Regions from separate parts of the Homo sapiens genome. Here region 2 is linked to region 1. Evidence: promoter capture Hi-C in 16 types of primary human blood cells and fetal thymus (Javierre and others, 2016). All regions are on one chromosome and are shown on one strand. Each heading gives the region's core, a stretch centred on a gene start or on the middle of the fragment in contact. The rest is flanking DNA. Distances are from core to core; before and after follow the strand shown. Region 1 holds the start of FLRT3 (fibronectin leucine rich transmembrane protein 3). Region 2 overlaps MACROD2 (mono-ADP ribosylhydrolase 2).

Region 1 (6,097 bases), core at 2,558-5,057:
TGATCCTCCCGCCTCGGCCTCCCAAAGTGCTGGGATTACAGGCATGAGCCACTGCGCCCATCCAAACTGTTTTCTTTACACAATTTTGAAGATTTTATTCTCATGAAGAATGCTGAGGGAAAGGAAAATCATGAAGAATGTTTCTTAGGCTTAAAAGAACCTTAATGTCTTCTAAGATTAAATCTCAGAACTTCATAGTTGGAGATAGTTTGGGGATCATCTAGTCCTACTAGTTTCTTTTACACAGGGAGTCAATAAATATGTATATGATGAATGAATAAATGAATGTGAAGACTGAATGAATGAATGTGTGAATGAGGTAGCTTAACTCTAGACAGACCTGAATTGTATTGTTCCATGAAATGACTGTGTGTTTTAGTCAGTTTCAGCTGGTAGTTGGTAACTAAAAGACAGATTTGAGGCTTCTGTGTGTATGTTGTTTTTCATTTTTTTGTCTGGATATACAAGTAAATGGCAGAACCTGGGAAACCCAATTCCAAATCCAATCTACTTTCATGTCCACTAGTGAACATCTCACATTTTCTCATAAAAACAAACAAAGAACACCACAAAGTCCTTTGAGATGACAAGTTTAGATAGTCCTAGAGTTTTAAAACTGGGATATGTTATTGAAGTTCATTTCCAAACCAGTTGCTTTCAATCTGAAATGCACTTTCTCACGTACAATGCTAGATTCACAGGCTAGCCAACAAAACAGAACAAAATGCAAAACAGCAAACATCTTTTCAACCCAAAATATCTACTAGAACCCAACTAAGTGTTAAGTTCTGGGAACATGAGGTCATGAGATGTGTAAGTACAAGAGAAAAAAAAAATCAATGAAATGCTCTTCTATTCCTCTTTTCCACTTCCATTTACTGACTGTAAAATTACTTCAAAGAGAAATTTGAAAAATTCCAAAAATCTGTTATTGGCCCTGTACTACCTCCCTTTGTGTATTCTTCTCCCATTCTTAGTGTCCTTTTTGTTCCAGGTGCTTGGATGTCCCCCATCTTAAATAATGACAGCTATCGTCTTATTGAGCACTTACTATGAGTCAGGCACTGAGCTAACAAACTCAAAGAGATTAAGTAATTTGTCTACAGTCATGTGGCAAAGCCAACATGGAGCCCAGCTGTGCTAATCTCTGAAGCCCATGTTCTTAAACTACCCAGGTCTACTACACTGGTTGTCCTCTACCCTGAGCCAAGTCCTTCCTGATATGAGAATCCACCTCCTCCCTTCCTATTACAGCCAAAAGGGTTTCATGCTAAAGATTGCCAGCATTCCATCCCCTTCAATCAAAACAGTCATCCCCTTATTGTAGCCAAAGTGCCTTAGAAAACAAAAGAGGAGGGCAATCTGAAGTAACTCATGATAACCTCATGTTTCCAGAGATTGTACATACTATTTCAAAGGGGGCACACATTATTATAAATTCACCTTCAACTAGTAGCATTTCAGGTAGCTGATAAGAGCGGGAAGTGAAAAACTATGTATGCAGCAAAAGAGTATATATTTTTGGACAGAATAGGAGGCCACAGATTCTACTAAGAGTTTGCCCCCAAAGTCAGTACCCCAGTATAGAATATATTTTCACAATTTCTTTTCTTTTCCCATATTTTAATCCATAGCTTAAAAGGGGAAAAAAAGCAACAAAAAATAATTGGCATTTAATAAATCCTTGCTGCCTTTATTTGTCAAGTGATGAAACCAAAGCCTAGGGCAACAAATATGAAGTCATATAACAATGGCAGCCCAGAGAAGGGAAACCTCCAAACTGCTAACTCCCAGGCCAGTACAATTTATTTTTGATACCTATAACCCAATTCACCAATTGATTTTTCTTTTCTGTTTAAGGCCTGCCTGAATGAAGACGAAACTGATTAAATATGGCTATAAACCCACAGGAATTTGACCAGGCAAAAATTTTCTTTTTTAAACAGAACCAACTCCTATCTGAAAATGGCTTCTAGAAATAATTATTTAATAAAATAATTTAATCCATGTCTTTGTTTCATAGTAACAGAAAAATATCCACCTCCCTTTCCTCCCAAAATTCAGCTGCTGCATATCAGTTTAATTGTACTACCTAGCAGTTCAAAGAAATTGGCTTTTCAATGGACATTAGAATCTAAAACTCCTAGATTTAATGGGTCTGTCCTCTGAGGCCCACAAAAGTGCAATCATAGAACAATAGGGTCAATACATTTCTTATCAAGGGTTCACCTACTTTGATATCACCCATTCTTGGAAGGGAACTCAGGTCAAACTGTTATCAAACAAATATATAAATAGATAAACTAAATGAAGCTAATGAAGAGACCACAATCAAATAGTCCTGGGAAAGACTATTAGCTGGCCTTCTTCAGAAATAAACATGCAGGGAAAAATTGAGAAAGGACAAAGGAGAAGGTCATGCACCTCTAAGAATAGAGCAAATAAAGATATTAGTTTAAGACAACGGTCCTCCAGGTAAATATAAAAGCTAAGTTCTTACCACCAACATGAACAAGTGAAATACACTTATTTGATGGAAAACTTACGGGCACAAAGCAATTGTTGACCAAATAGCAGAAACCAGTCTACAAAAATCATAATTAAAAATACAAGTATAATTCTGTTAATTAGGCATAGAAATTTATAATCTCCACGTCTTACAATTGTCCAGTGTTTATTCATGTACCTAAATTAAACTAAAATAATTTCAATCCAGGCAAACCACCCTGAAAGATTTTTTTCTTAAGATGTTTATATCTAAACCCATGCTCAGATCAGCAAAAACATTTAGAAAGGAAAATATTCTATTAAATTTTTTAAAAACATTTTATTGGGGGATCGTTAAATATAAATAATCCATTTTAAATAATATAAACACGTAGCAGAAGTACATAAAACATACTTTCATTTTCTAAAACATAGAGAACAGTAACTTCTTCGCCTCCAAAAGAACAGACCATTTAATACCATTTAAAAAAATCTTTTGGCATTCCTATTGCCCTTCCCATAACTAAATGAATCAGTGACACGTGTATATATATACATATATTGGAGATGGAGTTTCGTTCTTGTTGCCCAGGCTGGAGTGCAATGGTGCAATCTTGGCTCACTGCAACCTCTGCCTCCCGGGTTCAAGTGATTCTCCTGCCTCAGCCTCCCAAACAGCTGGGATTACGGGCGCCCAGCTAATTTTTTCTACATGTTGGTCAGGCTGGTCTCGAACTCCTGACCTCAGGTGATCCTCCCACCTCGGCCTCCCAAAGTGCCGGAATTAGAGGCGTGAGCCACCACACCCAGCCCTGATGTATATATTTGAATCTGCTGTTTATTCATATGTTGAATAAACATTCACAGTTGGGATTACTGGCATACATCTTCCACAATTATAACATTATTTTAGCTAGTGAATAATAAAACTAATTTGATTTTGGTTAACTTCTTTTCAATACAGATGGTTTAAAAATAAGACAAAGCCTGTCTTTTTCTATTGTGATCTTAAAAATATCTTTCTAACATGCTTTTTAAAAAAAATACATAAGTATGCTACCACTGCCTTGTAGTAAACTTTAGAAAATGTTGAGATTCCAAAGGGCTGCCTACAAACCAAATGGCATCCTAGCTTTGGCAGGCTGATGCTTCATTTTGGCTGCTCTCGCCCCCTCTAGCGTTTGCAAAGCTCATCTGTCTGATTATCCAGTTACCTCACTGAACAAGATCTTGGCTAAGTCCTGCCCATCTATGACATCACCCCCTTCTTCAGCCACTGCGAGGTGAAGCTTTAAACTTCAGACTTGGAGGTGGGCTGTGTGCAGTAAACTGGAATGCTCTCCCTCGCTCACTCCTCAGTGTAGGAGTGATCTGAAGCAGGACAAGCTCAGCCTGCAGCTGCCGTGGGCTTTGTGTGGACTGGACGCAGAGCTTGGGAGACGGGGGAGGGCTATTACTCCAATTCACTGTCAATGGAATTACAGCTATAGCGGCAGTGTATATAGGATTGCTTTTTCTCGTCTTCCTGGTAAGTGTTTTCCATGTTTTTTCTTATGATTGTCCCAGAAAGTTTGCTTGGTTTTACTCTCTAGAAAGAAACGACTTGATACTATGAGAAATCCAAATAGGAACGTTTGCTCTGTCACCACAACAAGCAATATATGTGCGTGCAAGCCAGCAATGAAAAATTTCACTATCATGGCTGAATGTAAGAAGTTTCTTAGAACCTTCTTTCATTTATAAAAGATAGTAAGTGGCTATTTTCTGTCTTGAGTAATTGCTATGTGAAAAGAGCCTTATGGAAAACAGCAAGTTGGAAAGTTCAATGTTAAATATTAAAGAATACAAGGAGATTCTTCACAGATAGGAAAGCAACTTGGTGTGTACTGTACGTGTGGGATGATCACCAATTGCTGTTTTTACAACTGTGAAAGAAAATCAATAATCCCTCAGCCCATGAGTACGCAGTACATGAAAAGCATACATCTTGCTCACAGCTAGCCGAGCTACTCCTGGAGACTTATGTGCCTCTGTAAAGGATTAACAGCTACACCTAGATTTTAAAGCTTGCACTGCTATCGTGCCTGAGCTGCTTCAAGCATTTCAGGCTTGCAAATCTCAACTAGTAAATTGAACTCAGAGGAGGGGGAGACACTCTTCCAAACCATATTCCCTCTTCAATAGAACACCAAAATCCATTGCTTAGGCAAGTGAAGTATGTGACTAGCATAGTAAATGGCTAAGTCTACTCAGAAAAACTAACAAAGCTCACCCTGGAAGCTATGCCTGATGTATGCAGTGAGTTTGGGGTAGCAGGAAAGAAAAATAAATGAGTAGAGCCCTTATCAAGTGGGTTTTGCAGAGGATCCATTCTTTGCAACTTATAATAGGAAAATCTTATATTGGAAGAAATGCATTTATACTACAAAGCTTGAAAAAGTAGTTAAATGTATCTTCTCAAAAAATTTTGTTCACTGAATTAGGTCTGAAACAAAATGGTTGCATATAGGTAAAGAGTGCAACAGGCCCATCCATGTCTTCTCAACATCTGGGGGGTTTGTTTTTATTATTTTATTTAGAATTTAAAAGAAAAAAAATTGATTTTTTTTTCAATTTTTAGTCCAAAATCTCTAATGGTTTTAATAATAAGGCTATTTTAAACATTCTTAATAAATCTGTCTATTAATAAATCTGTCTAAAATGCTCATCTATGTTATTTTATTATCCAGAAACAACATAAATAAAGCCACTAGAAAAGTCCTTCAGCTGTAGCAATGCCTTTCATTTATCTCTGACTGCATAAAAATATCCTGACCAGCCTAAACATAAAGAATAAATTTGCTTATATTCAGGGAGAATCACTTATACCTGACCCAAAGTGACAGATGACTAATATTCATCTCTTCCGAAATGAGTAAAGAAAAATTAATCCTTTAAAAGTGCCACAATCAATAATATCAACATTACCAACTACTACAAATATTAATGATAATATGCCAGGTTTTACCATGGGAAAATTAAATCAGAGATATGCCCCTTAGTTTGGACACATATATATACACACAGACAAACGCACATCTATTTATTACCCTGAAATAAAAACAGAGTTACAAAAACGCATAGATTTACTAAGAAAACTAAAATTTGATTTTTTGAAGAGCACAACCAAAACACATCAAGTCCAAGGATCAGCAAAATATTAGTGAATGAATAAACATAATGAATTCATTAATATTGCGGTTCTGTAAAACTGTCTACCAGTTACTAATTGGGTTTTTCATTTCGCTGCACCCCACCCTTTAAAATCAATTATGACTGGGTTCAAAATGCACAATTAAACACTTCCCAAACATAACGTTTGTGAGATATATAATTGGATAGCAAATAAAGTTTTTACAAAAAGAAGAAAAACAGTAAGAAAATCTGTCATAACTAAATGTGGCAGCAAAATAGAAGGTATGTTTCTTTTGCTTTCAAGTGTTAATTAAGGAGCCTACAATTCTATCAAAACTTTTTCAGAGCTAAATGAAGCAGTGTGAAATAAATTTGGTTGAAATCTTGTGGCTGTCAGACTTTGTTAGCAAGCTATTAATTATCTTTACCCCAGTTT
Region 2 (6,097 bases), core at 2,503-5,002, 910 kb before region 1:
TACGTGACATTAGAAAGATATCCAGGGATTAAGCAAGAAAAAAAGGAGTGAAAAAAAGGAGTCTCTGCATTTTAAAAATGGATGTCACAAGCCCAAGCACAAAACTCATGTGTGTAAGTCAGTTTCCTGGGCTCCCACTTAGCTTTTACTGGATCTCTGTTGCCATACAGTTCCAGTTTTGAGTGTCCCATGCCATAGCATGTAGAAGCACCAAGACATAGAGTCAAGTGAGAGACCAAATCAATATGCTTTCTTGTCCTTATACCATACAATCCTGGGATCAGACATACCTGCCTATTTTAATATTGGAACTAGGCAAAAATAACTGAGCTTCTTACTCAAAGAAATACGTGCTCTTGTAAAATATAACTGTGACCCAACTGAAAGAGCTTGCTTATTACTACCAATGACTTGATCATCAACACTTGCTTTAAATCTTTCACCTCACTGTGCCCTCCAGAGCTCTTATGTTATCAACTCTACCCAATCCCAGACAATTTCCTATCTTGTGAGACTCACCTTAAAACCACCCAGTTCATACCCTACCATGTAAATGTCAACCTAATTCCCTCATTTTGAAATACTGCCAAGACTGTCAAAGTGATGATTGCCAATTGTACCATAGGTTTAATAAACCTAGTTTTGCTTCGTCAACAGAGTTTTCAGGTGGTCTTGTGGGAGACTGACAATTCAAATAGGCAAAGAGAAGTGGCAAGTGCTTGGACAGGAAGCACCTAAACTTTACAAATCAAACACAGGAACTTAAAAATGCATAACAGACTAGGTCAATGATATCCCTCTTTATTTCAATAAAACCTCAGAATCTTCTTACATTAGAGAGTACAGGATAAAAATGAAGTTCACGATGATAAATGACTGAGTTAATGTAATCTTAAATCAGGTTCAATATAATCTGTTTAAGAAGATAGAGAAATATATATTTTATGGAGGGTTCTATCTAAATTAAACAACATTTTTAAAGTTTTGGCAAATACCCAAAGCTTTCTGGAATGCTAGGCTGTCCAGAATGATGTATCCCCAGGAGCTCCAGTTAACTGAAGTACCACTATATTGTGTTCACTCAATTACCAGCTTCTTAACTGAAAAAAAAAAAAAAAAAAAAAAAAAGGTGTGCTTTGGCCCCAAATGGTTTACAATTCAAGGAATTCACGTTTGACAAATGGAGGGTAAGTCCACAAGCTTGGGCTTTGTAGTCAGATAGATCTGAATTCTATCTCTAGCTCTAAAATTCTCTAGGATTATGACCAAGGAAGTCATTTAACTGCTCTGATTCTCTGTTTCTTTGTTAAAAGACAAACAAAAAAGATAATCATAGCAACCTCATAGAACTACTGTGATAATTATAATAGTGTCTTTAGCACCTTGTTTGTTAGATGAATGAAGGATATGCCCTCAGGTATACTCAGGTACTATGATAAGTATTTAACATTAATGTCAAATTAGTTCAATATCAACTTACCTAACTCTTAAAACTGCTTGAGATAGGAGCCATTAATATCCCCAGTCTACAGATGAGAAAAGTGGGGCTCCCAGTATTAAACGATTTGATAAAAGGGCACAGCTAGTAAATGAGGAGCTTAAATCCAAGCTACAGTCCTGCTCTTTCCCCCCGTGCTGCTAAGCAACAAATGATAAAAACAAAAACTGAAGGCAGTGGAAGTGTCAAGAGGTCACTGCATTTGAACATCCACCAAGAGTTATTGATGATTCTGGCTGATACGCTTTGATTTTCCTTTTTGATTAAAAGTACTGAAGAGAGTTAAGATCTGTACTGTTTACACTTTTTTTGAACTGAATCTTGATCAATTACCTCTTAACCTGGTGAAACACCACTCCTTTGCCTCACAAGGCATGGAGAGATAAATGGCATAAATGGAATAAAAATATCCGTTGAAAGTTTCACTAATAAACTCGTTTCCTGCAGGGTGAAGAGACATTTTAAAGTAAGTGTCCCCTAAGTTGGAACTAACCAAATCGGAGTATGATTGAAAAGAAAGCACTGTTAATGTTCTATAAGTCATATCAAGGAAAAGTCACCTGTAGGTGATACAGGATGGGGGACAGCATGAGACCTATAAAATTTGAAGATAAGGTTACCTTGGAGAATAAAATTACATCCATGAACCTAAAATAAATGAGGTTATGCCTTGATAAAAAATAATTTTTGAAATCCACCCTGTTACAGATTTTGCTTCGGTGACTGCAGAATTTGAAGTAATATTCCAATTCTCATTATGGTGAATAGTGTGTGGATGTAGCTCAGTCGATTCTCTCTTCACTAAGCAAGAATAAAGATTGTGACCTTCAGCATATAAAGGAAGTGTAGAGAATGAGATTGTATCAGTTTCCCATAGGCATCTATAGTTATTCTTGCCCCAGCGGAAGGAATGGCCTCACCCATAGTTATGAGTGTCCAGCCCTCGGGGTATGGATGGTGCAGGTGGTAGCCTCCACGATCATAACTTATTACGCTAGTGTTCACTGCTTTACAAATAGTATGAAATGATTCCTTGTATTACAGTTAAGCTTACCATAATTTAATCATAAGTTAGCTTTGCACATAGATTTAACAATGGGGAAATGATATCTTATCTTGGAACTGTGTAGTTGCTGGACCTGCTGCATAGCTGAGTTTCTTACTATAGATCAGCAAATCAATCTTCTGAACTATAGACCAGGGGTCAGGAAACTTTGTAAAAGGCCAGATAGTAAATATCATAGGCTTGTGGGTCATTGAGTCTTAATTACAACTATGCAATTTTGCTGTCATAGTGCAAAAGCAGCCATAGGCATTACCTAAATGGTTAGTGGTGGTCCTACAGCAGTGGTAGCCACACCGAAGCCCAACATCCCACTGGACTCCCAAAAACCTTCCCTTTCCTGCCTATTTTGATGACTGAACACACTTGGCTTATCAAAGTAGCTGGTTTGGCCTTCAACTCCTCCCTTGTTTCTTCATTTTCCTAGTTCCTCCCACATGGTTTAAGTACTAATTCCTATAATAAATTCCTTGCACCAAAATGTATACGGTTCTACCTCCATGACTGAATCCTGACTGATACAGCATACATTAACAGATGCAAATTTTGGACCTACAGAGTCAAGGGGCGAATATGCTGACCCCATCAAAGTGATGCCATGATGCAAGCCAGGCTCTGGTGAGCAGCTGGCTCTGTAGGTGGCATCCTTCTCTGGTGAGTCTGTGGATGCCATGGTGTGTCCACAAATTTGCATACAAGGAGACACTGGATGTAGTCACAGGAATGTCTGCAATTGGGTCACAGGAATGTGGTCCAATCCCAGCTTTGCAAGTGATCTTGGCCAAGTTTCTTAATCCTTCTGGTGATGTTTTTCATATCCAAAATATGAAGGAGTGAGTGGTAGACTAATCACAAGTATTTGATACCTTTTTCCTGAGGGAGGATTATCCCTCTTTGTCTCCCTGTCCTGTTCAATGTAGGTATGGCCGAATGACTTCTTCTAGTTAATGAAATGTGACAGTAAGCCATATGTAGCTTTAAGAACCGCCTTCTCTCTCTCACTGTTGTGACAAGCAACAGTTCCAGAGAGAGACAGCTCTGTCAGCCAGTCCCAGAGTGAAGGTGATGTGTAGTGGAGCTGGAGCTGCCTCTATGGACATCTAGCCTGAGTAAGAACTCAATCTTTGTGGCTGTAAGCTGCAGAAATGTTGAGATCACTTGCCACTTCAGCATGACTTAGGCTATCCTGACTGGTACAGGATTAAACTATATGTTCCTTCTACATCTCAAACACTTGATTGAGTTTGTAACAAACTTTGAGATGAATTTATTTAATTAGCAATACATATGGAATTGTTTTGTAAAATGCTTATAGATACACATAAAACAGAAGCCTAGTATAGCTCCTCAAAATTAGTTCACAGAAATACATGCAATACAATAATCCTTACCTTAGCCCTTTGTTCACATGCTGCCTAAAATCTGCATAATACCAAATATCTCAAATGACTGAATTTTGAAATCAACAGACTGAATTGATAAAGTTAGAGCCACACAGATACCATTTATGTTCCCTCCTTACAAAACACTAGCTAATTATTTTTATTTTCTACTGTCTTCTTAATATAACTCCCTCAGCTTTGAGCTGAGGAATTCATACATGGGGCTTATCAACTTCAAACAGTAGCAATTCAGAAACATTAATTAACTGTGTGGTATGTATTTACATTTTTTAGGTTGTTACCCGGAACTTTCTCAATTTAAACATTTAAAATAGTAACTTGATTAAGAATCAGTCCCTTAAAATTGAAAAAATAGCAACTTAGCACCGATTCACTGTTTTTCTTTTCAGCTAGTCACTTGGAAAATAAAGATGAAAAAGAAAAGAAGATAACACCAGATGAAAGGCAAAAGGGAAATAAATATTAATAAAATATCATTGAGAACAAGGAGATTATGCATAAATATGATTTTCCCAAACCTTTGCAATGAATGAGTATTCTCTGACGTTGATGCAACTTACACCCAAGTCCTTCATTAAGGAATATAGGGGATGCAATTTGTTTTATGGGCTTTTTGCTGTTGTTATTTTCTGCCTCCTCATCCTGAAATGCTCAGCAGTGCCAAATGTGCTGCAATGTCATTGAGCAGCATGTTGTAAAACAATACACTCCATGTTTATTCAGTGAGAATTTGCACTGGGGAGCATTTAAGGCTGAGGCTTTCTAACTGAGGAATGAACAAAGACATGGCATTATCATTTATCTAACTTCACCACGTTCCAGCAAATGAAAACATGGCAGCTTCTCAGTGGCAGGGAATCCATTTTGAAGTGAAATATTGCAAGTGGTTAAATAAACAGAACTTTCTGTGTTGCATTCAGCCCAATTTTGATCATCTGACCCCTACCCCTTTTTTCGGAAACCTAAAATGATTCCCAATTTCTTTCAAGCTTGGAACTAAAATTCCATTCCCTGCTGGCCCTTGCCTAAATCCTTTCTGTTCTCACAATGTAGACAACATTCCTACTCTCTCTTGGAAAAACTACATCCCACTGCTTCAGAATAGTCATCAGGTCTTGATGCAAACATGAAGCTTTCATAGATTCAACATTCATTTATTCATTCTACATTCATTCTACAAACATTTACTGAATGCCTGCTACATGTTAGGCAATATACTCAATTATGGATCCAATAATTAGCAGGGCAGACCTTGTCCCTACCCTCATGGAGCTCATGAACTGGGGAGGAAGAAGAAAAATATTCAAATAAGCATACAAATATAAATGTAAAACTTTTTCCCAAGGAAGAGAAGACAGAGCTGAGATCCAAAGGATAAGAAGGGAGGCAGGTAACTCAGGTGAAGGGAGAAGGAAGATCCCCCTAAACACAGAGGATGGCATATGCAAAGGTCCTGTGGCATATACACAGAAAATCACAACATAAAATGTTGAAATGATAAACAAGAAGAAAAAGAGTAAAGGCTTATTATTTCACATACATTCTTACATTTTTCTCAATCCTTTGACTTATATGTTCACCTTTTTTCAAGAATCTATATCCCATCTTAGGCACTCATGCTAATTTATCATAAGCTAAATGGACATAATCCCAATAAAAAATGCCAGCAAAGTCAAAGCGAATGCAACGTCTGTGCCCATGGAGTTCATGGAAATCGTGGAACAATGTGGCAGATAGACAAGTACATCACCAGTGGGGGTATAGTAAGAATATTGCCACATAAAAGCTGTGTACAAAAGGCTGTGCAGACACAGAGGCAACAAAATAATACCTGGGGCAAAAAACACTAATCAGAGACTCATCCTAGCAGAAGTGCACCTTAAGCTGTGTGGTGTAGGGCTGGTGAAGGTGGTGGGGAGGTGAGGAAGGTAATCTTGACAGATGGAATAGTCTGTGCTATCACAAACAAAGGCATGATGACCTTCCTGGACCTTCCAGGTAGCCAAAAATTTGTATTTAAGAGTGGCAGCAGAGGAGACACAAGAGGGTGGCCAGGGCCTTAGGTAAAGAAATGCCTTAAAAGTTTCTTTTCTTAAGTAGATAAGTCTAAACAACGTAGTAAGGGTTTAATAC

The links. Contacts are between HindIII fragments. The CHiCAGO score rates a contact against its expected background, and 5 or more counts as called.
Region 2: a contact is called between a fragment that was not itself captured here and the fragment with the promoter of FLRT3 in region 1, in 2 of 17 cell types (megakaryocytes and endothelial precursors). The highest score is 6.7, in megakaryocytes.

The regions. Positions count from the first base shown.
Region 1 is chr20:14,335,322-14,341,418 of GRCh38, reverse strand. FLRT3 (fibronectin leucine rich transmembrane protein 3) reads left to right here and starts at 3,807. Exons shown (of 3, transcript NM_198391.3): 1 at 3,807-4,015. All of the region lies in intron 3 of MACROD2 (mono-ADP ribosylhydrolase 2), which reads right to left. The HindIII fragment of the contact is 777 bases long and covers 3,779-4,555 here.
Region 2 is chr20:15,249,961-15,256,057 of GRCh38, reverse strand. The region is part of intron 6 of MACROD2 (mono-ADP ribosylhydrolase 2); the gene reads right to left. Among named protein-coding and RNA genes, the nearest start is that of MACROD2-AS1, 320 kb to the right of the region's middle. The HindIII fragment of the contact is 2,406 bases long and covers 2,550-4,955 here.